Regions from separate parts of the Homo sapiens genome. Here all the other regions are linked to region 1. The links are contacts of gene promoters, found by promoter capture Hi-C in blood cells and fetal thymus (Javierre and others, 2016). All regions are on one chromosome and are shown on one strand. Each heading gives the region's core, a stretch centred on a gene start or on the middle of the fragment in contact. The rest is flanking DNA. Distances are from core to core; before and after follow the strand shown. Region 1 holds the start of ADAMTS6 (ADAM metallopeptidase with thrombospondin type 1 motif 6). Region 2 overlaps RGS7BP (regulator of G protein signaling 7 binding protein). Region 3 has its middle 60 kb from the start of SHISAL2B. Region 4 has its middle 42 kb from the start of SHISAL2B. Region 5 overlaps SREK1IP1 (SREK1 interacting protein 1). Region 6 overlaps SREK1IP1 (SREK1 interacting protein 1). Region 7 overlaps CWC27 (CWC27 spliceosome associated cyclophilin).

Region 1 (3,547 bases), core at 287-2,786:
CCTAAAGTTAACATTCAGCAGCCCATTTCCAGACAGCAGCGCTAAATCTATTTGGATAAAACGCGTGTGACCCAGACAGTTGGCATCTGGCCCAAACGCGTTGCACCGGCAGCTCAAATAAAAACAAGAGTAAGAAACTCACTCTCTTGTTCCCTCTCAGTGCGCTTTCTCAATCTCTCGCTCACTTTTCCTCTAGTACAGGGAAAGAAAGCATCAAAGACAGGAATTGTAGCACATATTATCAGAAAGAGGCTTCCCAATACCCCATTCCTGCACTCTCACTCTCCCTCCTCAATCCCTGAACTTTGGTCCCATACACCATATATACAGACCTACCCCGATAAACAAGGCTCCGGAGGGTTATGAGTCTAGCACGTCCCAAGTGGCCAAAAGTAAATCAAAAACACACGTTTCCATCTCTTTGATTAGCCTATTAAGAGCTTAACATGTCCTAGAGCATCGGGGCTACAGCTAGCACATTAATGCTACCCTCTGAGCCCAGGCATAAAATATGCACTTGTCTGAAGACTTAACGACACTGACATGAAACTACAAAATGCATAAGACTTTTCTGTAAGAAAACTGGAAATCAATTTAAAACACACACATCATTATTACCTTCCGGATTACTATTTGGTGATCAGTTAAAAGATTACAATAATCATAATCAAGTCCACTTCACAAAACATGTATTGTATATTCATAAAATAAACGTATTTTTTTTGCATCATAAAATAACTGCAAGTCCCAGAATTCTACAACCCCCGACAAGTCTGGAGTTAAAAAGATATCTATTTGTAAAATGAGTTCAGTCAAGCTCACTCATTGCCATTAAAAAAAAAAAAAAAAACACACACACAGAAAAAAAGTTTTCTAAGCGTTATTCGGAAGACAAGCAAAGCACAAGTTGTTGGTTTAAAAAAAAAAAGCTCCATTGAATATTGTTAAGTCTTCCTTACCGTTTTCATCTTCAAATTCTGATAAAAAGTAAGTTTCAGACAATAGAGATTGCACTGGACGACTCACGTACTCCCTCTCCTCTCTAACTTTTTTTAATTTTTTTTATTTTTTTATTTTTTGCCCCCCTTTGCAAAGCCACACCAGCCAGTTATTCTGCAGCCAGAATAAAACCCTATGGTCTGGCTAACCCGGGCTTTAGAGAACTGACTTTCCGATTTGGCAGAATAAGAGATGCCTTCAATACATCTAGGCTATCACTCTGAGATGCTGCCTTTGCAAACCCCCTTTCTCTCCCTCCCCACCCCCCAAAAAAGGAAAGGAAAAGAAAGAAAAGACGGGAAAAAAGACTTATTGGGGGTGGAAGTGGTGCCCTCTCTTCCTGGAAAGCTTAGTGCCTTTGCTATGCAAATAACATGTGCAGAGCATCAAAAGGTATCAGGAGAAAAGAAGACAAGAGGAGCAGGAAGGGCAGCAAAGTTTTGTTGAAGTAGCCCTAGATCTCACTACCGGCCCCCAGCCAACTTGAATTGCAGCAGGAGAAAATTTTGGCAGCTTTTCCTCGGAGGCAGAGCACACTGACGTCAGTCTGCAGATGTGCCTGGGCTGCGTCGGGTGCGCATGTGTCCTGGGTCGTCACGTGGAGGGGGAGGGGAGGTAGAGGTACAATCGGGGTAACCAACTACCAGCCATTCAGAAGGGCTTAGACAATGTCAACTTTTCCACACTGTGAATGAGAGAAATTCTGGCCTCTCTAACCTCTCTGTCCTATCTCATTCCGCCTCTTTTCCTCCTCCTCCTCTAAACTCTCTTAGAAATTCTAGCCTGGTTTGCTATTAGTTGTTTCTTGGAAAAATGAAGGGGGAGGGAGAAGGATGAATGACTTTAGATGGACTAATGTCACTGTTAAGATCTCTGGTGTCATTCTCCGTGTAATTTTATTTTTAAAATCCACACAATCAAAATGTTAAAACTTGCACGCAAACAGTGCCTCTGAGGAAACTTAAAGCTTAGATTCGTGCAGCAGGCACAAGACTCAGTAGCTACAAGTGTACAAAATGCCTGTGTTTTATACATACTTCAGCAAGTAAGGTTAGCACCAAAAGGGAAAGTAAACTAAAGTAAACTAATACCAGCACATTTTCCATTTGATTATCGACTTCAGGTTATGTGGAGCTTTAAAAGAAGAAGAAGAAGAAAAAAAAAAAGTAGGGGAGGAGGGAGCGGGGGAAGGAAGAGAGAAGCTTGCATTATTTCCAGATGAGGGTGAGACTGGATGGTGTTTTAAAGTGCAACCGGGAAAAGCCACAAGTGGAGTGTATTTTTTTAAGTCAGTCCATTGAATGAAACTTCAATGACTGCCCAAATGAAAATAAATCCGAAGTAGGACCCCACCACCAAAAAAAAAAAGGAAGGGAAAAAAACAGGAACCCTGCTGCGATCTCAAGATAAACAAACAAAACCTCAAAACTGGTTCTTCAACCTTCCCAATCCCACCCTCCCTCCCCCCTACACACAAGCTGCCAGTCCAGACTTTAAGGATAAAATACCGCTACAATGTAGCACTTTCACTTTCATTTGCTGAGAATGAAAGCCGCTGGGGAGAAAATGCCCAGTGTTTTCCATGTCCTAAGCAAGCAAACAAAGTCTGGCACATACATCGGAAACAGGAAAAAATGTGAAAATAGCTCAGGACAAATGTTGCCTTTCAACGGTGTAATCTGCTGCATCATTTATCTGTCTCTACCATTGAGTGTAGAATAGGGAGCTGTTTAAGAGTTTCCGAGGTTGGGGGCAGGGGAAAATTGACGCCTTGAAATTCCAGCCCTTAGTTAATGCCAAGTCAATTTCCGATGGTGAGAACCAGAAAGGAGAACTGGACCGGAGGGAAGGGGGTAGGAAGGATGATCTTTCTGAATACCAGCTCTTAAATATCAAGCTTCTGCTAACATTATTGCCCATTTGATTTTTTTTTTTCTTCCTACGCCGGAGGTAGTAGGTGTAATTCTTCTGGTGAATCTATGAATAGTTGGCTAAAAGGAGGCATGAATCAGACTGAGAACGTCCAAGAATACAGTTATTTCAATTCTTCTTCAAGGGTTGAAAGTGGAAAGCATCTGTCCACAGAGTAAATAGTCCTCATCCTGACCTTAATCAGTAGTATCTGGCTAAAAGCCATTTAAAATGTAGAAATCTGTTCAATAGTGGGCATTGAGTTTTAAATAAAGATGATTCATATGTATGTATGTATGTGTGCGTATTTGTATGTGTATATATATGTGTGTACATATATGTGAAATACATGAGGTAGCAAAATATAGCAATAATTGTAAACACCAAAAATAAGAAAAGTAGGCATCAAATGACTATTTAAATAGTGTTGAACCTTAACCTTCCTTAATTTTTCAAGTACTGGCAGTAAATAGGGACAGCCAGCACACACACAAAAAATAAAGGTATGAGCAGTAAACATCTATATAAGCTCTGAAAAGATTTTACCCTCAACTAAGATAAACTGCCCTACAAAGTAGCAGCTTGTAGAGGAGCTTACTTAGTGGGAGTGGACTTTGGCTAATTACTTATTCAAAGA
Region 2 (3,547 bases), core at 667-3,166, 870 kb before region 1:
CCTGCCCTTTTAAATGATTTTACACTTGAAAGCAGCTGCCGTCAAGAAAAAAAAGAACAGATTCAAAAACCAGGCTGTTTTTAAAAGGGAATTTTAAAGCTGACATTGTGCATGTCTGCTCCAAACCACGCCATGACAGATGCAAGAATTATGATTTTTAAATTATTTAAAGGTTTTTTAAATGTATTATACAGAGGAAAAATATTTCACATATAATAGTATATCTATAGCTCTTGCTGATCTCATGTTAAAATTTATCGTATATGAAAGAAGTCTTTAAACATAGAAATCTATTTAAAACTGAAAAACTGTGTTCAAAAATCCAATCTATCAATATCATTAGAAATAATATTATAAGCAAACATATACCACCTCACCTATTGCTTTCTCTGCACTCATTTACATTTAGTCTTCCATTCTGTCAGAATCTAAGAGCTTCAACATAAAAGTATCTTAATTTATAAAGCAACAAAAACCACATATGAAAAGTACTAAAATTTTGTAAATACACAATAATCCTAATACCTTCGTACAAATGCATATGGGCAACTAATTTCTTTTTGATCCAATGATGTCTTTTTCAGCTTCTTGGAGAATGAAGTAATCCAGTTAGGAAATGGTGTAGTAACATATACAATTGCCCTCAAATGTAAAATCAAATATTATTACATTTTGTTCTAATTGAAATCTGAAGCATGGTGTCTGCACATCAGCATAGTGTTAAATCTTATAGGGCATGCTGGAATTAGCTCAGATTATAAAAATATTTAACATTTTACATTGTTAATAAAGTTTTTTAGTTAAGCTAAGCTTGTCTCATTTTAGATGACTATGCAGATAAGATTTTTCCAACGTGTACTTGGTGTCTTGTCTTATGCTTAGACTCTTGAAAGCAGGACACATTAAGCAATACTATATTTTAGAAAGGAGGAAGCCACATGCTTTGTTTTTCTGCTCACAGCTTTGTTGTGATCTTCCTTCACTAAACTTGTAACATGGTACAAATTTTGTTATACCGTCTCCTGTTCTTCCTTTGGCCCATTTCCCAGACAGAATTTCCCATGGGTTGAGAGATCAAGTCTTTGCACTTTTTTTCTTGTTTTCCATAGTCTGAAAAACCTTCAAGTCAGACAGGAGGCACCAGTGTCCAGTACAATAGAAGGATGAGCTAGATGCCGATAAGTGGTTTATCCAAGACACATCTTTAGTCCCAACCCTGTTCTTTACCAATACTTATGTGCACAGGCATTTATATGTATACCAATATTTTTACCTAAAAACTAAATATATTAAGGCCTTTTGCTTTAGTGAAGATGAACTACTGTAATAATTATTGTATTAGGTTGAATTATATGAAATTTCCTATATGTGACTGTTTTGACCTACAAAATGGCAATTTCTTATAGTTCACCCTAATATCCAATGTGGAAATTATACTTGGAATTGTCTTCTAGCTCTTTTGATTGAAAGTGAAAGAATTAAAGGGTTGGAAGAGAACGTTATACAGGTCTCTATTTAGATCATACCAGCTGGTTTTTGGCCTTATTCTTTGAATCTAGAGTTGTGTTCCAAGGAACCAGTAATTAATGCATGGTTATAGGTATACCTGGCTTCAAAAAAAAGAAGTAGCCGTGGAAAGCTATATGAGAAAATCACAATTTTCTGAATCAAATATTTGTAAAACAATTTGGCTATTTAAAGACTCTTAGGGTAAATACTCCCTGGAAAAGCAAGCAATCCAGACTTATCTGGTCTGCAAACCTTGATTTCAGCTTAATATCCTTTCCTGAATCTAATTCATTTTCACCCACTAAGGTCATTTCATTTAAGATCCATTGTTTTTGAAATTTTGAAGTAGCCCAGTTTGGCAGCTCTCAGCACCTGCCTCTGCCCTCTCCTATACTTCAACTATATTGAACTCTAGCTTCAATCTAGTTCCTACTAATCCATGCAAAAGTTATTAACTGATAAGCCCAATCTTGTTCAGCACGTTCTTCTAAATGCCTGACCTAAATAACTTCTGCTTGGTTAACTTGTGTTCATTCTCACCTTAGCCTCAGTGTGAAAGTAACACTTACCTTCTGTGCAATTGTCCTTTGTACAACTGAAGACTGTTAATAAATTCAGGTCTCACCTCCATGTCTGAAAAGGCTATAGTAGCTATTCATGGAGATGGGAATTTGTCTAATTACCTAGCCAGAGTTTGCATATTTAAGGTAATATATTCAGCTACCGTATCTTTTATTCATAGTGCCTGTTTTCCAGCCTTTGATCAGTTTTGTAGTTCCCGTGGATAAACTCCAAGATCTAAAGATCCTCTTTCAGTAGCATATACTAAAATTAAGTTTAGTGCTCAAAACCCTGGTAACCTACACTGGCCCAAGGTTACAGTAGGTAATTCACCGTCTCACATTAGACAGGCCAATGCATCCCTTAGGAGCTGCCCCACTCTCCTCTCACCTACCAAAGGATTTTCTCAGGTGTGGTTCCAAGCGATAAAGTTCTACTGTCTCGGCTTCCTGCTGGTAATTCGCTTTCAGATTAGCAATAACACTGAGCTGATCTCTAGGGTTAAGAAGAGAACATTGAACTCATTTTGTCGCATGTACCCACAGGCTTGAAACAGAAAATGATGTAAACTTTTGTGGCATACATTCACCCATTTTCCCACCATATCTTTACTATCCTGTGTTGATTTTTTTTTCAAATTACAAAGACAATACATGTTCTTTGTGGGAAATCTGAAAAATACTACCAAATAGAAAATAAAAATCACCTGAATTCCACCACGACCACATTGTTTAAAACCACATTTCTGGGTTTTAAATCAGTCAGTGGCTGGGCCCAAAGGCACTTTTGGGTAAGATAAGTGAAGAAATGCCCACAAGGCCAAGGTGTCACTTAAAAAAACAAACAAAAAAAACAAGCCAGAAAAAAAAAATTCTGTCCGCTAATGTTTTGCACGCATCTAGGAGCAGACTCACTGCAAACCTCTGGTTATGCCATTATTCAGGGGTATAAAGAAAGCTTTAGAAGTAGCATAGTCCTGATGCCTCCTCTAATGAGTTAAAGCTCTTGGGGGAAATTCTAAAATTGCCAGACCATTTTGTTTCTCTGTGCTCCTACGAAACCAGTCGGGATACTGAGTGTTTGGCAATACTGCCACCTACTGAAAGCTGAGCTTCAGAGTGAGGTGAAATAAAGACAGAATGTAAAAGCATCTACTTTGTTTTAAACAGCAAACAAATGGACCAGATTAACAATGATCCCATCTGGAATTTAAAACTCTGAAAGTGTCAACATTGAAAGGATTAAGCATATCATCCGGTCAAACTTCCCACCCTACCCACATACCCAGGCAACGTCTATCATTTCTTTGTCTTAGGAATGTCACCAAATACAAAATGCTCAACTTTCAGGTAACCATAGGTAGGATGAGAAAAAGCTGTGATACTATTGGCCTCAGGATAAATTATTAGAATTAAATATATAGACCATAATAGACCTAAGAATATAAAAGAATTGGGTATATTATAAAAATGACATT
Region 3 (3,547 bases), core at 300-2,799, 850 kb before region 1:
AATGCTGTAGTATAGTATTTGCAAATAACCTGTGCAATCTTCCCATATATTTTAAATCAACCCTAGATTACTTATAATACCTAACACAATGTAAATGTTATGTAAATAGTTGTTATACTATATTGTTTTATCTGTTATTTTTATTATTGTATTTGTATTTTTTATTGTTTCCTTCTGAATATTTTTAAGCCACAGTTGGTTGACTTCATGGATGTGGAACCCTCAGATACCATGGGTCAACTATACTTTGTGCATATGATCCATGACTGAGAGATGCCTGCTTTCGAGCAGCTCACCATGCAAGGGGCAGACAAACTCTAAAAAGAATAATGTGTTCCTAACAATAAGCAGCCGTTTAAATACTTAGTCAACCTGTCTACTGGGGGGAAACAAGCTACTTTCCAACTCCAGGCATGAGTGTTAGATATTCTTCTGCTCCACCAGCTCTATCTCTAATCTTCTCCAACTTGCTCTGTGCCCCAGGAGGATTAGCCATGTGAATTCCATCAGTGGGCTCCCTTGCCCTTTGGCTTCCAAATGTGTCTGTCAAAGGGGAGCCTGACAGGAGGGAGGAGGGAGGAGAAAGACAATGAAATCAGGACATGTGTCACACTGACTGTCTCCCTGCAGGGTCACAGTGGGCTGACTACATGCAGTGATCGAATGTCTCGACTCTTGGCAGATGGTCCTCCCCATGCAACCCTCTCTCTAGGTTCTGCTCCCTAAGAGTTGTAAAGGCATCCCATTGTTAATATTCTTGGAGGGCCACACTATCTCTTGTGGTTTCCTTATATCCTGTCCACACTTTTTACATTTTTTTTAAATTAAACTCTCTTCACACCACTTGTCTGTTTCCTACAGATACACAGCCACCTTGTGTCTTATATCCTAGGGTGGATACCAAGGCTCTCATGCTAAAGGCAGCACAAAACATTCATTCATTAAACAGCTGTTCACTAAGAGCTGCCTTTGTGTCAAGTCCTAGGGAAGACAGCAGTAAACAATATAAATAAATATTCTTCCCTCTACTCTGCAGTGGGTGATTAGAGAAGGCTTCTTGAGGAGACAACATGGAGGCAGAATCCAGGACAATGTGAAAGAGCCAGACATATGAAGATGTCTAGAAAGAACTTTTTAGGAAGAGGGACAAAAGATGTAATGACTGAGGAAGAAACAATGACCGAGGGAGAAACAAGCTTGGCCTTATGGGGGATACACATAAATCCATGTGGCTGAAGCAGAGTGAATGAAAAGGAGACTGGTAGGAATGGTAGCAAATGTGAGACTTTGTAGGTCATGTTAAGGAGTGTGGATTTGATTCCAAGTGTTATGGGAAGCCCTTAGGAGAGGGCACGGGGGAGCTTAGGTGTAGCATGATCTGATTTATATTTTAAAGATTTATTGGCTGCTGTGTGGGAGCAGACTGTAGAGCAAAAGTGGAAGCAGAGTTAAGACAGTGTTAAAATAGCCGAGATAAGAGAGGATGATGGCATGGATGAGACTGGTAACAATGGGATATGAGGAGAAGTGGTAATAGAAAGTAATCTAAACTTGTTTGTGAGCTGGATATAAAGTGATGGAAAAAAGGAACAAAGGATGCTACTAAAAAAGTTTGATCTCAGTGACTCAGATGCCATTTACTAAGATGTGGAAAACTTGCAGGTTGCAAGTTGTGGGATGGCATGGTTGTGGAGAAATGAGAACTTGTGTGCCTATGTGAAACCCAAATTGAGATGTTAGAGAGGCAAGGAGATATGAGCTTCGCTCTTAGAAAAGAGATGAGAGTTCAAGAAACATCTGTGTGAACTACCCACACATGGAAATGGATGAGAATCCCCTGAGAAACAATGTGGCTGGAGAAGATTAGCGGCAGGCCCTGAGCCAGAGCATCACCTGGGGTTTAAAGCTTGGGGAAAAGAGGGGCTAGCAAAGAAGTCTGAGAAGAAGCACTCATAAGAAAGAAAGATGATAGTGATGCTCTAGCCTAGTGAAAGGGCGTTCAAGAAAAATCAACTGTGCTAAATGTTGCTGAAAAGTGAAATAAGTCAAAGCTTAAAATGAAGTCACTGGGGCCGGGCGCAGTGGTTCACACCTGTAATCCCAGCACTTTTGGGGGCCAAGGCTGGTGGATCACATGAGGTTGGGAGTTCAAGACCAGCTTGGCCAACATGGCGAAAACCCATCTCTACTAAAAATACAAAAATTAGCCGGGTGTGGTGGCACACGCCCATAATCCCAGCTACTCTGGAGGCTGAGGCAGGAGAATTGCTTGAGCCCAGGAGGCAGAGGTTGCAGTAAGCCAAGATCACACCACTGCACTCCAGCCTGGACAACAGAGCAAGACTCCGTCTCTAAAAGAAAAAAAAAGAAGTCATTGAGTTTGCCAACATGTAGGTTGCTGATGATTTTAATGTTGAATGACAGAGACAAATGTAAGTTAATGGGAAAATTGGAGGTTATGGGATGTAGATAGCCACTATTAGACAACTACTGGAAGGAGTTTTGGTGTAAGGGGGAGCAGCTGGAGAAAAAGGTGGAGCCAAGAAAGAAGGATTATTAAGACAATAGAGTATATTTGTATGCTGATGGGACTTATCTAGCCAGGAGAGAAATATTGATCATGTAGGAAGGAGGGGAGCTCGTTGAAGGAATGAAGTTTTGAGAAGGTGAGAGAGAGTGTAGGATCCACTTTATAAGTAGAGGACTTGCCCTTAGGTAGGGACTCAAACAGGAATTTTAAATTCCTGTTTCTAAATGCCACCAGTATATTAAAATCCCTTGAGATTTTTTTTGAAAGAAAAAAATAGATGTCCCACAGTAGATTAATTAATTCAGAATCTCTAGAAGTGGGATTTTGGCATCAGCATTTTAAAAATTCTACATATAGCTCGTGTTGATAATCACTGATGCATTGAAATGGGAGTGAAGTCAGGTTGTGTGAATACAAATACAGGTAGTCTGATCTACTTGGTGATGGAAGAATGAGGCAGTTCTCCTCTGATTGCTTCTATTTTCTCAATGAAATAAGAAACAAAGTCAGAGCTGAGAGGGTGCTGTTGATTTGAAGAGAGAGAGTTAGGGCATGAAATAATTTTTGGAAGTAGGAAAGTAAATTTACTCATGAAATATAATACAATTGCAAGGATTTGCAGAGGGCCCACTTGAGACTTCTGGGGAAAAATGTAATATGAGACTAAATTAGCACAGCTGTGTTTCTTCTCTAGCCACATCCATCCGGGTACAGAAGGAGTAGGTGGAGATGTTCTTTTGTGACATTTGAAGCAGTTGCCACCACTTGACTCCTGACTGAAGTTACAAAGTGGAGGCGGCTGCCTTTGGAAATTTCCTACCTCCCGCCTGCTTCCTCAAACTACTCCAGGCTGACCTAACCCTATCAGTATGATCTAAAAAGAGGAGCTAGTAAACCTAAATGGAATTCTAATTGGTAGAAGAGTTGAAGGAAAGGAAAGGAGATTTTAACAGTACCTTACTGAGCCATAATTTACATGAAGTACAAAATGTACAAATCTTATTGCTTAACAATTTT
Region 4 (3,547 bases), core at 281-2,780, 830 kb before region 1:
AGCTAAAGAGGCACAGATCCACAAAACAATTGACTGCTCTTGCAAAAGAAGTAGATGTAGTGTTCATTTAATATTTTATATGCAGTTTTCCCCTAAGCAAATATTTGAAAATGTTCTATTCATCTGATAATTGCAGATAATATAACCCAAAACACAACGATTCTCTATAACAAAAAAGAATGAAAGAAGCAATATGCACCATTATACTGTATAGTATTGAAGCCAAGATTTGCCAGTTGCAAAGAACAATCAAACTAATTCTATGAATGAAAGAAGTTAATTTCAAGGATACAGATGCTTCACAGACTCCAAAGACAGGGAATGACCCTGAGAGGTGAAATAGTTCTTAGTAATGGTATGGTATCCTTCACCCCAGTCTTTTTACAGCCTAGTCCTATTGCCATAATCTCTCAGCCATCTTTCTTTACTTTCTCACTTACACATAGCTATCAGACCCAATTCTACATTAAACTCTAAAGACTTATTTCTAGATCCTTTGGTTCAAATCCTGATTGGGTGACCAGTAAACTCTGTACAGAATGGCAGGGGTCCTGTCACCTGCTGTCTGCTCTGCAGAGCTAGAACAAGAAACTTTAAACCAGAAAATTAAATTGCGTATGGTGGATCCATAAATGTATCCATACATTGGCATGTAGAGTTTACACAAACCATACATGTTCACTTCTAGTAACTGGATATTCCATGTTCATCCTGTTAAGGCCAAGGGAGAGTTTATAAGGCCAAGGGTATAGCCTGAGGCCTGTAGACTAATAAGGCCCTTGAACAAATAAGCCTACTACTTAATTCTTCTAGGATCCGTTCTTAGATGACTATACTAATTCTAAGGGTGGAGTAAACCAGACAATAAGGAGGACACCTGGAAGAAGTTTTAGCTTTGGACTATGTTCAATAACCTAGGTGGGGTAAGAAAGCTGGGGGCGGGCAGAGACCATAATTTTCTCCATAAATAATTTTGTTTTAGGACATATAGGTTGAAACTAAGATGGTAGATTCTGCTCTAATCAGCCCTTCTCAGTTTCATCCAGCTCTCTGAAGCTCCAAGATGGTATCTGGCTCATAGGCTAGTCTCATGCCTTTGAGGAACAATGTTCAGCATTATATGTAGCATGATTACAGAAGCTTTCGGAAGGGCATGACTACTCCAAAAGGCCTCTTGCAAAAAGCCAACAGCAATGCCTGAAATTTCATCATTAAGGATTCACCCATGCCCAGATGGGTTTCTAAATACCATTCCTCATTAAAGTAATAACACACCTTGGAAAATGGCTGACTCCAGGGCAGCAGCAGAGAATGTTTAAGGGGAACCAGGGCATCTTCTCACAAAGCAAAGCAGTCCTCAGAACTGATTAGGTTATATCAAAGGGAGATAAAAGCTGGCTTATAGAGACTTGCGCTGGCCAGATTTGGCATTAATTATAATGTATGCACTAAATTTAATTTGAGCATCAAAGAGAATAATGACAATAATTGATTATAACTTCTAAAAGTCTATAGTTATACTTGAGAGAAAAAAGCTCATCTTTATTTTTTAATGCAGCTAATAAATATAGGTTAAATAATAGAAGGAAAAAAAATCACCATTTTGTAACTCAATTCCTAATGTTATAATTGGCTGAGAACAAGAATCCTCAATGGGTTCTAAAACCACAGCGTGAAAAGACACTGTGAAAACTCAATCCCAAAATATGACCTCATAGATCGCTTACTAATAAAAATGGAAATGTCTGACAGGCAGCCCCAAATCAAGTGATCAAATGTATTAGTATTATTATTCAAACATTATTATCAATAATGAGGCAACCTAACATTATATGCATCTTGATGTGATGCATTATGAAATATGGAAATATTTTACCCAAAATGTTTACCTGAGATTGATCAAGACTCTAGATCTAACTTAAAGCTTATAAGAAATACAGAGAAGATAACAAGTTTAATTACACCATGAGTAGTCTTCTATAAATCAGCTAGCTTAATTTCTTCAATAAGTCATCAAAAAAGTCACAAAAAAAGTGAAAAAAACCCAGAAGGACTCTTCTGGGTTAAAAACAATGAGGAACATACCAAACAAATGAAATGTGTAATCCTTGACTAATCCTGAATTTTTAAATAAAAGTCATTGTTGGAAACATTGGGGAATATAAAATAGATATTAGATGACATTATGGCATTATTATCAACTTTCTAGGAATTGTGCCTATTGTGGGATGATACTTCGTTATCAGGTGATTCATACTGAAGTATTTAGGTATGCATATCTTAATGTTTGAATTTATTTTCTTATGGTTCAGGAAGAAACCATACATATATACAAACACACAGAGACAGTGAGATAAAACCAATGTAGCAAAGTATTAACAATTGATGAACCAGACAAAGGGTATGCAGAGTATTCATTGTATTATTCTTTCAACTTTTCTATAGTTTTGAAATTTTAAAAAATAAGAAATTTGGTAAAATAATAGAGATAAGCATTTTTAAATGTAACTTCGAGCGAAAATCTCCATGGCAGTCTAGCCATGTGGCAAAGAGGGAAAAAGCATTTTCAGGAAAGGAATACAAGCAGGCTGTGGAGTAATCACTAGCTAGAGAGAGTAGCATGACTAAAAGGAAGACAAATGCTAATAATCAAGACAATGGGAAAAGGCCTCAAAGGCATTTTAGGATTATTCAAAGCATCCCCTCCCATTACAGGCCTAGACGCCTGAGAGGAAAGAATGGTGTCATGGTCCAGGCCCAGGACACTTCTGCCCTGCTAGACCTCAGGACACTGCTCCCTGCATCCTGACAGCTCTGGCTCCAGCCTCAGTTCAAAGGGCCCCACGTACAGCTCACACTGCTACACCACAGGGCACAAGCCATAAGCCTTGGGAGCTTCCACATAGTGTTAAGCTTGCAGGTTCACCAAATGCAAGAGTAAAAGATGCTTATCAGCTTCCAACTAGATTTCAAAGAATGTATGGGAAAGCCTGGTGCCCAGGGAGAAGCCTGACACAGGGATGGAGCCTCTCAGAGAGACTCTACTAGGGAAGTGCCAAGGGGAAATGTGGGGTTGGAGCCCCCATACAGAATCTCCAGCAGAGAACTCCCTAGTGGAGCTGTGAGAAGGGAGCCACCACCCTTTCCATTCTGGGATGTAAGAATGGTAAGGCCACCGGCAGTTTGCACCCTGAATTAGTCAGGGTTCTCTAGAGGGACGGAACTAATAGGATAGGTGTATATATGAAGGAGAGTTTATTGAAGGAGTGTTGACTCACACAATCACAAGGTGAAGTCCCACAGTAGGCTGTCTGCAAGCTGAAGAGCAAGGAAGCCAGTCCAAGTCCCAAAACCTCAAAAGTAGAGAAGCTAACACTGTAGCCTTCAGTCTATGGCCAAAGGCCCAAGAGCCCCTGGCAAATCACTGGCATCAGTCCAAGAGTCCAAAAGCTGAAGAACTTGGAGTCTGATGTTCAAGAGCAGGAAGCATCCAGCACGGGAGAAAGATGAGGCTGGAAGACTCTACTTGTCTGCTCTTTCCAACTTC
Region 5 (3,547 bases), core at 406-2,905, 750 kb before region 1:
TTTGCCTTTGAAAAATGTACTGTCACATATATTTTGCAGCTTTTTTTTCACTTAACATAGCAGATATTTATCTTTGTCATTAAATATATATCATTATTAAACACAGAAGTGTTCCCATTAACCATATTTTATCAATTTCTACTTTCATTGTTAGAAACAATAAGCAATGGAAATCTTTGTACATATAAGAAGTATTTCTGGGTGACAGAACTTGTGTATATTTAAAGAAAAAGCAGGCTGGGCGCGGTGGCTCATGCCTGTAATCCCAGCACTTTGGGAGGCGAGGCGGGTGGATCATGAGGTCAGAAATTCGAGACTAGGCTGGACAACATGGTGAAACCCCATTTCTACTAAAAATACAAAAAATTAGCCAGGCGTGGCGGCAGGAGCCTGTACTCCCAGCTACTCGGGAGGAAGCCTTGGGGTTATTTGGCAAGGTAAAGAATAGACATCAGTTTGTCTCATAAAATCCTAGGAGATTTTTATTGACCACGCTTTCATTTATTCAACAAATATTTACTAAATGCTTATGTGTCAAGTACTGTGCTATGTACTGGGTCTTTGCTGTGCATGATCCTTGCCCACAGGGAACTTATAGTTAAGTGGTGAGAAAGAAAATTAACAGGCAAAGATAGCATTCTAAGTGAACAGCAAGGGTAGTGCATGTCAGGAAGAGGAAATTAGTGCCAAAGCTCCAAGGCAAAAAGAGTTTGGTGCGTTCTAGAAACTAAGAAGAGGTTGTTGCGGATAGAAGGGGAGGGGCAACTATGAATAAGAATGAACATGAATGAGAACAGATGAACAATATCATAAATACATGTAGAATACCATGAAATGAGAGGCCAGAGAGGTAAGCAGGAACTTGCTTATTCAAGACCATGAAGGCAACAGTAAGGATTTTACATTCTAAGTGAGACGGACTGTGTGATCGGCAGACTTACAAGGTAAATGAATTGGAAAGGGCTAAGGGGAAAAGGCAGGGGAATAATAAAGTAACTGGAGTAGTGCAGGCCAGAGATGGTGTCCTGAGGTGATATGTGTGTGCGAAGGATGATGGAACGAAAGGAATCAAGGATGACCACCAGGTTTTTAGCAGTGCCACTGATTAAAATGTGGATTGGTGGGAAGTGGGTAGGAGCCTGAAGGACAATTGTGGGTGGGAAGTAAAGATTTCAATTTTAGACATTTGAGATCTAAAAGACCTGTTTGACATCCAAGTAGGTAACTGAAGTAGGTAGTTTGGTATGTGATTCTGAAGTTTAGAGATTAGTCTGGACACACACACTGATCAGCTTATAGATAGTATTTAAAACTATGGGGAATAAATAAAATCATTTAGTAAGAGAATGATGAGAAAAAAATACAGGGAGTAAAGCCCAGGAAGATTATCTGCATCTTGAGGAACTCCAACATTTACGGGCTGAGAAGAGCAAGAAGAAGAGCTGTCAAAAAGACTGACAAAGAAGGGCCACGGGGTTGGAAGAATACCAGAACCAAGAAGTAGGAATGTTGAAGAGAGGGGCTACCTATCAAATAGTACCTAAAGGCCAAGTAGAATGTGGATATAAAAACGCCAAATAAATTTGGCAAAAAGTATTTAAAGACCTTGACAAGTGGACTGAAAAACAAATGGAAATAAAAAGGTAGAGAAAGTAAGAATAAATAACTTTGATGAGAAGTTTAGCTAGAAAGCAGCAGAGAAATGGAATGTTAGCTACAGGGATGCAAAGGATCTAGGGAAGAACAATGGGAAAAACGAAAAAAAATTGATGCTGATTGAAATGATGACGCAGAGAGGGGATAACTGAAGGAATAAAATTCTTGAAGAAAAGAATTCATAGCAATTATGGTAGGACATGCCTTCGAAAGGAAGGACAGTCCTTCCATTTTAACTGAAGGAAAGAAAAGAAAGATGGATATATATATATGCAAATTTGTGGATTCAGTAATTGGAAGCTAAGATGCTCTCATTTGGTGTCTTCTATTTTGTCAATGAAAGAGGGAGTCATTAGCCGAAGGAGGAAGGGAGAAGTGGGAAAGGTATAAAATAAGTATGTGGAGTGAACTTGCAAAAATAAATGCAAGCTGAGATTAGGGATCATGAATTTATAGAAACACCAGTCTGCCTCTTCACCTTTGCACTGCTGTAAGGGGATCAGCATAGAGAAGGCAAAGAGGTTCATCCATATTTGGGGTTTTGCTAGATAAGGGTAAAAGATAAAGAAAGGAGTAAGGCAGTTACAGATATTTGCAAAAGAATAATGGTGATAACTATGATGGAATCTAAGCTAGATAAGGGGAAGACTAACTGAATGAAAGTGGTGGGTCAATAGCCTGAGGGTCTTTACATTAAATAAACTGGAAAGATAAGAACTTGGAGTAAAAAGCGTACAGTGTATGCCATTAATTTTGGAGGCTGAGAACAAGGTCCAGGGTGCAATCATGGAAATGTGTGGCTAAGGTGAAGAGACAGAAAAGATCATTTTCAATGATAAGGTGGAGAAGATGAGTTAGGGTGTTGTCAGGTCATTCACAGGTCATCTAAGAATGTCTCTAAGAACAATGAGAGGACTTGAGATGAAAAATAAGACAATTGAGAGTTTGAGGCTGGAGGATCGCATAAGACTCAGAGTTCGAAACCAGCCTGGTCAACATAGTGACATCATGTCTTTATAAAAGAAAAAAAAAATTAGCCAGGCATGGTGGCACATGCCTGTAGTCTCAGCTACACTGGAGGCTGAGGCGGAGGACTGCTTGGGCCCAGGAGTTTGAGGCTGCAGTGATTCCAGAAGCCATGATTGCATTACTGAACTCCAGCCTAGACAACAGAGTGGGCCCTTGTCTCAAAAAAAAAAAAAAAAAGAGGACAGGAATCTTAAAATAATTGTGAGGAATGGCCTGAACTAGATATAGGACGACAATAAAAATGGGAAGAAGCAGGAAAGCCAAATGACAGGAGCCTCAAAAGGGCATTTTGCTAAGACAATATGTTGATGATGTCTTGAACATATAAAAAATGTGAGTTATTAAAGACAATCAGTGAGAAGTATGTAGTTTAGAGAACTAAAAATGTAATTAAGGAAAAAAATAATGGCCAGACCAAAGATAAAATGTATTAAGAAGGAAAGCAGTCTTGAAATTCCAAGAACTATTTTTAATGCCTTCCAGCTCTCAGTTCTCTCTCTTCCTTTCTGGTTGTGGTGCTGGCCACCTCTTTCTTGCATGCTATCAGCTAAGGTGTCAATGGTTGGCATACTAAGTTGGAAAAAATGATTAAAGGCAAAGTGAAGAAAACAGGATGGGGGAAATAAGGCATTTTTTAAAAAGTCACATCCAATGACAATGTACATCTGGAGACTCAGAAATTGTACAAATCAGTGCTATAGGCTACTTATCTCTATTTCTAGTATCCACGATTTTGTCAGTTATGCCAACAGCTTTTTAGAAAACTGGTCAATGCCATTTGTCCTGAAAAACTTCTCTCCATTATGAGAGAAGTACTAAAACAATGCAAGTGATGAAATGCTGGGAGAGATTCTATACTATT
Region 6 (3,547 bases), core at 421-2,920, 730 kb before region 1:
TTAATTTACACAACTCTATGGGATTAGGTACTACAATGATCCCACTTTACAGACAGGAAACTGAAACACAGTGATCAAGCAATTTGCCTAATGTCACATAGCTAGTAAGTGCCAGCAGAGGTTTGTACCTAAGTAATCGGGTGCCAGAACCACTTGTCTTGAATGTTAATAAAACTGGAGATCATGAAACCTATTTCAGAGTTATTTTAAGAATAAAATAATATCTTTCATGCAGTTAGTACAGAGACTAGCACTAAATAGGTATTTAATACACGGTACCAGGTTATGACCATTTATTTTACTAATACAAGGACAAGTATATTCTCCCCTTTCCTCCTTCCAGGAGTAGCTATGCCACATAATAATAATAATAATAATAATAATAATAATAATAATAATAATAATAAAAACCCTCCAGTTTCATGTTTCATTTTGACTGTACAGATAAAAATCTGTCAATCTATACACACACACAAAAACCCTCTTGTTTTATAAATAGGGTACCCAAATGTCTACTTCTGGGCTTACAGAATATATAGACTATGCTAACAGCTACTAATTTAACCAGGCTTTAGCTCTACCTAAAATCCTCAGATTTGAGAACACACAAGCTATTTTATAAGCTTTTAAATTCCTAAACCCAGTTCATTCCACCAAGCTTCCACATCCCTAACATTTTGGTTCCACCCCTAAAAATGCCGGCCTCTTCTGTAGTCATATATTCTTTCTTGAAGTCTTTTTTTTTTTTCCTTTGAGAGAGGGTCTGGCTCTGTTACCCAGGCAGGAGTGCAGTGGCACAATCTTAGCTCACTACAACCTCTGCATCCTGGGCTCAAGCCAACCTCCTACCTTAGCCTCCAAAGTAGCTGAAACAACAGGTGCACGCCACCGTGCCTGGCTAGTTTTTTTGTTTGTTTTTTGTAGAGATGAGGTTTCGCCATGTTGCCCAGGCTGGTTTCAAATTCCTGGGCTCAAGCAATCTGCCTGTCTCAGCCTCCCAAAGTGCTAGGATTACAGGCATGAGCCACTGCACCTGGCCAACTTCCTTGGAAGTCTTATCCTCATATTTATCTTTTATTTCCCCACTGACCTAGCTGATCATTGCCCCTTTCCTAGTCTTTTTCGATAGATTCTTAAACATGTAACTGTCCTATGCGCTCACATAGTGTTGCCACCACACTTAAGGGATATTTGGCTCTTCCTTGAGGGCATTTCTCTATAGTTAATTATCCTTTACCTCAGTATTATTAGTATTCTCCAGGCTTCTCAATATTGTTTCCAAGTAGTAATCCTTAACTGTCCACTCAGCTCCCTGCTGCAGGTTAACAGCCCCATTCATTGAAATTTTTTGAATGTGGCTCATACTCTAACTCTTTACCCCAAGCCCTGCCACGAGATTGAATGGACAGCCTAGGTTGTTGGATAGCTTTTCTGGGTTCCCTGACATTCTAGATTCCATGGTCACACTATGGTCCTTGTTATCATCTGCAACTGTTTTATCTCTGAAATTTTAAACTCCAATATTAAACTCTGACTGTGTCTTTCATCCTTCTAGCTTTTTCATTCATTTACACTCATGCATAGATCTGTTTTTGATTCTCATTATGATCTTCATTCCCTTAATGCCTTCATTTTCTCCCAGTCTCAAATCTCTTATTACTGACAATATGAACAACCTTTTACAAGTCTGACTCTTTTATATACCCTTGTTCATCCTCATTGCAGACAAATGAATCTGACTCAAAGTTACTATTTCTCTGGGTTGTTACCCACCACTCCCCCACCACCTCACAGAGTAGTCAGGCAATGCTTGAGTGTAACAACCACCTGTTCATGCATATTAGCATTTTTTATTTGTCCTTAGTCAACTTCCTCTCCTACTTCCCTCAATGACTTTCTCAAACTGGTACCTGTCTCAAAACATTCATCACTCACTGTCCTGTCCTACTCAAACTCCCTACCTAAGGAGGCAATCCTGTCTTCTAATTTACAAACAAAATTGAGATTACCAGGCTGGATCTCCTACTTTCTATCACCACCTGAAAACATCTATATCTATTCTCATCTAGTTTCTTCCAAACTTCAGAGGTATCCTTGTCATACCTCTTAGAGGAACTTGCTTAATCTTTCCTTATCCTCCAGTATTTGTAATATGTCCTCTAATGTTTCCCTCAGTCTATACCAACATTTTATACCTTAAAAAAGAAAAAAGAAAAAAACCCTCTCCATTTATCCCAGTTTCTTCCAGAAATTACTCAATGTTTTGTACCTCTCTCATGGAAATTTCTTGAAAATGGAGACTACATTGGCTTTCTCTATTTCATCCCCCACCACTCAGGCCTGAATCTACACACTTTGTTTCATGACCTACAAATCTACTTAAACTGATCTTGCTAAGGGAAGCAAAGCATCCTACCTGCCAAACCCAAAGAACATTTTTCAGTTCATTTCTTATAACTCTTATCTGTTGCACCTGACAATTTCCCCCACATCCTTTGGCTAATGTGATGCTACATGCTCTTGTTTCTTCTGCCATATTTTCCCGGTCACTTTTCCCTCGGTTTATGCCTATATTATTTTACTCCACCATCTGATATTGTACTCTATGAGGAGTCTGTTATTATTCTAAAATATGTTTAATTAAATATCATATAGGTCAACAAAATATAAATGTGGAGAAAAAAAGCTTGGTTGTTTCTAGGAAACAAAAGCTGTACCTTTAGAAAGATGTAATTAAGTTGCTTTTAAAAAGCAATTGACAAATTCAGCAATGGCAATAAGACTGTAAAAGGAAAAAAATAATCTAAAATAATGGGACAAGGTACCTGCTTCTCAAAGGGAATGCCATTGGCATTTGGGGCCAGAATGTTCTTCACTGTCCAGGACTGTCCTACCATTGTAGGACGTTTATAATCTTTGGGCTCTACATAGTAAGCGTCATAGTGCTGCACCCTCCATCCTGTTGCTGACAATAAAAAACACTTCTACAGATTTCTAGGGAGGCAGTACCACCTGTGGTTGAGAATTAATGATAAATTTCTTTACAAGTATCTTAACTTCTTGCCTACCTTTGAAGAAGCAAACTATAAAAAATAGAAAATGCATTTCAGATGTGGTTTACACACACAAGACTGAACACCAATAAACAGACATATAAACAGGCAATAAAAAAGTGACAAATTTATATTTATGTAAAATGTTAAAGGTATTTACATATTTGTTTTTATTTCCTGCTGCTGTGATCAACCACTGGGTCTACTATACTAATCTTTTAATCATACTTTCTGAAAACTATCATGATTATTTGAGACATTTATCCCATAAATAATCCCAAGGCCTAGTGTCCTTGCTGTTTTTAAATATTCCGAAGTTACCAACTTAAAAATAAATTCTAATAAAAACTCATTATCAAAATAACTCTTTTTCTGTGAATTTTTTTTGTGTGTTTTTTTTTTTTTTTTTTTTTTTTAGATGGAGTCTCGCTCCATCGCCCAGGCTGGAGTGCAGTGGCGCAATCTCGGCTCACTGCAAACTCCACCTCCCGGGT
Region 7 (3,547 bases), core at 702-3,201, 710 kb before region 1:
GTGAAGTATACATTGACTGAATAATCATGCAAATAAATGTTTAATTACAAAATGTGATAAATACTATCTTCTGAACAGAAATAGGCTGAATGATAACATAAGGGCCCAAGTTTTCATCCAAAAACAGCTTGGGACTTTTTCCAGCATAAGGCTCATCAAAGATATTAAAGCTTCTAAGTTCTGTAAGGTTAAGAGTGTGGACAAAAATTTGGTCTGTGAAGAATTTGAAGCACATGTAATAAGTCTGTTCAACGAATGTTTATTGCCTTTACTATCTAATGGTACATTAGGTGCTGAAAGCGTACAGAGACATTCAGAGTAAATGGGACAAAATTCCTCCCTTCAAAGAACTTAGTATCAGCTTGGGAAGTAATTGATACATGATACCAGTGCTTGGTCCCTGGTTGTCCATAAATGTTCTGTGTTTTGCTGTAACCCTAGCCCCTGAAGATGAGGCAAAGAAATGTAGTACTTGACAGAAAGTTTTTAAGCATAAGAGGTAATTCCCTGAAGATGAAATTTCCACATATTATGATCACTTATTCTAAATTGTGTCTGGCTTCTTCACTTAGTGTAATGTTGCTTTCAAATGATAGGGGTCTGTCTTCCTGTTGTACACACTTAGTTTTTAAATATCTTGAAAATCAAAATGGCTTTATAAGTATATTTGCATATATGTTTATAAGAAACATGATATTATCAAGGTATTAATTGGGAATTTTAAGAGAAAGAGCCAAGGAGGCCTACAAAGTAGTGATGACCAAAGAGAATGTATGGCCAGAGGAGGAAGGAGCCATATACCTTCTTTATTAATTCAGTAGCTTATTAATGAAAAGATTAAGAAACCCTGGTGAGCAAAGTGGCCCGATTATATATGCATTCTTTTTACTAGGTGTAAGTTGCCTGTGGCCAAAAAACCACGTAATAATGACTATCATTTTTTGAGCACTTATTATTTGTCATTTACTTTTCTAAGCAGTCTATGTATTACAGCTCATTTTGTCCTCACAGAAATCCTAAAAGATATTATTATCCCGTTTTTAGATTAGGAAATTAAGTGACAGAGATGTCAGATAGTGTGCGCAAGGTAACAAAGCTAGTAAATGGAAGGGCCAGTATTTGAATTTGGGCATCCTGATTCCAGAGCCTGTGGAGGGAGGGATGATGTAATTAGTGTGTTCATTAGAGCAGTGGTTTCTAAACCAGTGAGTGCATACTTCAGTGGGTGTGCAAAACCATCCATGAGCTGTGGGGAGAAAATCTATATATATTTGTATTTTTTTCCTTTGTTTAAATTCATTATTTAATATATATAAAAAGATGATGACTGGGTGCAGTGGCTCATGCCTATAATCCCAGCACTTTGGGAGACTATGGCAGATTGCCTGAGGTCAGGAGTTCAAGACCAATCTGGCCAACAGGGTGAAACCCTGTCTCTACTAAAAAAAATGCAAAAAAAGTAGCCGGGCATGATGTTGTGAGCCTGTAATCCCAGCTACTCAGGAGGCTAAGGCAGGGGAATTGCTTGAACCAAGGAAGTGGAGGTTGCAGTGAACTGAGATCACACCACTGCACTCGGGTCTGGGAGACAGTGAGACTCTGTCTCAAAAAAAAAAAAAAAAAAAAAAAAAAAAAAAGTCCAGGCGCAGTGGCTCATGCCTGTAATCCCAGCACTTTGGGAGGCTGAGGCGGGCGGATCATGAGATCAGGAGCTCGAGACCAGCCTGGCCAACATGGTGAAACCCCGTCTCTACTAAAGATACAAAAAATTAGCTGGGTGTGGCGGTGGGTGCCTGTAGTCCCAGCTACTCGGGAGGCTGAGGCAGGAGAATTGCTTGAACCCGGGAAGCAGAGGTTGCAGTGAGCCGAGATCGTGCCGTTGCACTCCAGCCTGCGCAACGGGGTGAGACTCTGTCTCAAAAAAAAAAAAAGGCACTTTTTTGGCATTGTGGTGTAATTTTTCATAACGACTAGCCAAATAGATTTATAGACCATAGTATTTAGATTAACTAAACCAGCCATCACAAATTTCTTATTGAAGATATTATTAATAATATAAACAAGCAAATCATAAGAACATGATAGAGCTGATACCTCAGCATGGGAAGTCTGTCAAAAAAATCAGAAATTATTATGAAGACCATTGGAAATATGGATTTCTATTTATTGTTTTCAATGGTGAACTTTGCCTTAAATATATATTGTGTCTTGAAATATTTACCAGTAAGAGTATAAAGTCATTGTGATTTTCAAGACATTTAAAAACTAGATGTGTAGAACTGAAAGACCCCTATATAATTTGAAAGCAACATTATGCTAAGTAAAAGAAGCCAGACACAAAAGGCCACATATTGTATGATTCTGTTTATATGAAATGTTTAATAGGCAAATCTACACAGACAGAAAGTAGATTAGTGGCTGCCAGAGAGTAGGAGTAGGGGTAAATAGGGAGTGACTGCTAATGAGTACAGGGTTTCTTTTTAGGGTGGTGAAATGTGACTTAGCATTGATGATACTGACCTATGAGAAACAGCCTCATGTTTTTGAACAGTTATATTGCATACTCTTTACTTGAAAGAGCATTCTAAAAGATTGTGATGGTCACAAATTATTGACACTGATCTACTTTGGTATACTAGGGGAGAAAAAAGAAGAAGTAATACTGGAGAAATTGGTTTCCAGCTATGCCACAATGTTCAAATTTAGAGCCTAACATTCTTTTTGGTTATTTGTGGTTATAAATAAGACAGTTATAAACTGTTTCCTGTGGGCCCAGCAGGGAGGGGTTCTAGTTGCAAAGTTTCTGGTTCTACCAAGGAGTATCTGCTGTTATGAGCTGGTGGAAAGGCTATCACGGGATTCTATTTACTATAGAAGGTGATTTTAAGACATAGTATTTTAGTAAATCACAAGCCAGAATTAGATTAAGAATGTTCCTTTGTAAATTAGGAATAGCATGATGTTAAATGAGCAGAGAGAGTAAAAGGTAATTAAAAAGGGTAATTATAAAATTGTCCTATAATGTCACAATTTAATGGGTTCATTATTCTTTAATTTCTTAATTTGCTACACAGTTTTATTGGAATTGATGCAATGGGAAACTCAATTATAACAAATTTGCATTATTGGGGTTTTGTCATGTTTTATTTTATTTTGAGACAGGGTCTTGCTCTGTCATCCAGGCTGGAATATAGTGGCATGATCATAGCTCACTATTACTTCAGATTCCCAGGCTCAAGTGATCCTCTCAACTCGGCCTCCCAAATAGCATGGAACACCACCATGCCTGGCTAATTAAAACAAATTTTCTTAGAGACAGGGTCTGTCTGTGTTGCCGAAGCTGTTCTTGAACTCCTAGCCTCAAGTGAACTCACTTTAGATATTACCGTTTTCTAAATGAATGAAGTTTTTTTCTGTGATTAAAAAAGATATATGCTATTGTTTTCTTAAATCCCAAACTTTTTCTGAAATGGTATTTTGAAAGATCTAAATGTACAATGAGTTGTAGTGAATATTTGACATTTTGTTGAGTATATCAACAAAAGCC

Evidence for each region. Contacts are between HindIII fragments. The CHiCAGO score rates a contact against its expected background, and 5 or more counts as called.
Region 2: a contact is called between a fragment that was not itself captured here and the fragment with the promoter of ADAMTS6 in region 1, in 3 of 17 cell types (total CD4 T cells, M2 macrophages and M0 macrophages). The highest score is 5.7, in total CD4 T cells.
Region 3: a fragment that was not itself captured here is called in contact with the fragment with the promoter of ADAMTS6 in region 1 in 15 of 17 cell types (total CD4 T cells, total B cells, megakaryocytes and 12 more); the score reaches 18.4 in total CD4 T cells.
Region 4: a fragment that was not itself captured here is called in contact with the fragment with the promoter of ADAMTS6 in region 1 in 2 of 17 cell types (M0 macrophages and total CD4 T cells); the score reaches 5.5 in M0 macrophages.
Region 5: a fragment that was not itself captured here is called in contact with the fragment with the promoter of ADAMTS6 in region 1 in 7 of 17 cell types (total CD4 T cells, total CD8 T cells, activated CD4 T cells and 4 more); the score reaches 8.9 in total CD4 T cells.
Region 6: a fragment that was not itself captured here is called in contact with the fragment with the promoter of ADAMTS6 in region 1 in 4 of 17 cell types (activated CD4 T cells, M0 macrophages, erythroblasts and 1 more); the score reaches 7.1 in activated CD4 T cells.
Region 7: a contact is called between a fragment that was not itself captured here and the fragment with the promoter of ADAMTS6 in region 1, in 16 of 17 cell types (fetal thymus, activated CD4 T cells, total B cells and 13 more). The highest score is 19.6, in fetal thymus.

The regions. Positions count from the first base shown.
Region 1 is chr5:65,480,384-65,483,930 of GRCh38, forward strand. ADAMTS6 (ADAM metallopeptidase with thrombospondin type 1 motif 6) reads right to left here and starts at 1,537. Exons shown (of 25, transcript NM_197941.4): 1 at 960-1,537. RefSeq lists enhancers at 1,290-1,649, 1,417-1,916, 1,690-1,739. The HindIII fragment of the contact is 619 bases long and covers 1,346-1,964 here.
Region 2 is chr5:64,609,390-64,612,936 of GRCh38, forward strand. It overlaps RGS7BP (regulator of G protein signaling 7 binding protein), which reads left to right. Exons shown (of 6, transcript NM_001029875.3): 6 at 1-2,930. Among named protein-coding and RNA genes, the nearest start is that of SHISAL2B, 79 kb to the right of the region's middle. The HindIII fragment of the contact is 2,217 bases long and covers 809-3,025 here.
Region 3 is chr5:64,629,188-64,632,734 of GRCh38, forward strand. No RefSeq gene overlaps it. Among named protein-coding and RNA genes, the nearest start is that of SHISAL2B, 60 kb to the right of the region's middle. The HindIII fragment of the contact is 710 bases long and covers 1,195-1,904 here.
Region 4 is chr5:64,646,972-64,650,518 of GRCh38, forward strand. No RefSeq gene overlaps it. Among named protein-coding and RNA genes, the nearest start is that of SHISAL2B, 42 kb to the right of the region's middle. The HindIII fragment of the contact is 784 bases long and covers 1,139-1,922 here.
Region 5 is chr5:64,728,677-64,732,223 of GRCh38, forward strand. The region is part of intron 3 of SREK1IP1 (SREK1 interacting protein 1); the gene reads right to left. Among named protein-coding and RNA genes, the nearest start is that of SREK1IP1, 38 kb to the right of the region's middle. The HindIII fragment of the contact is 4,686 bases long and covers 1-3,547 here.
Region 6 is chr5:64,748,702-64,752,248 of GRCh38, forward strand. The region is part of intron 2 of SREK1IP1 (SREK1 interacting protein 1); the gene reads right to left. Among named protein-coding and RNA genes, the nearest start is that of SREK1IP1, 18 kb to the right of the region's middle. The HindIII fragment of the contact is 2,028 bases long and covers 657-2,684 here.
Region 7 is chr5:64,771,019-64,774,565 of GRCh38, forward strand. All of the region lies in intron 1 of CWC27 (CWC27 spliceosome associated cyclophilin), which reads left to right. Among named protein-coding and RNA genes, the nearest start is that of CWC27, 3.9 kb to the left of the region's middle. The HindIII fragment of the contact is 3,566 bases long and covers 169-3,547 here.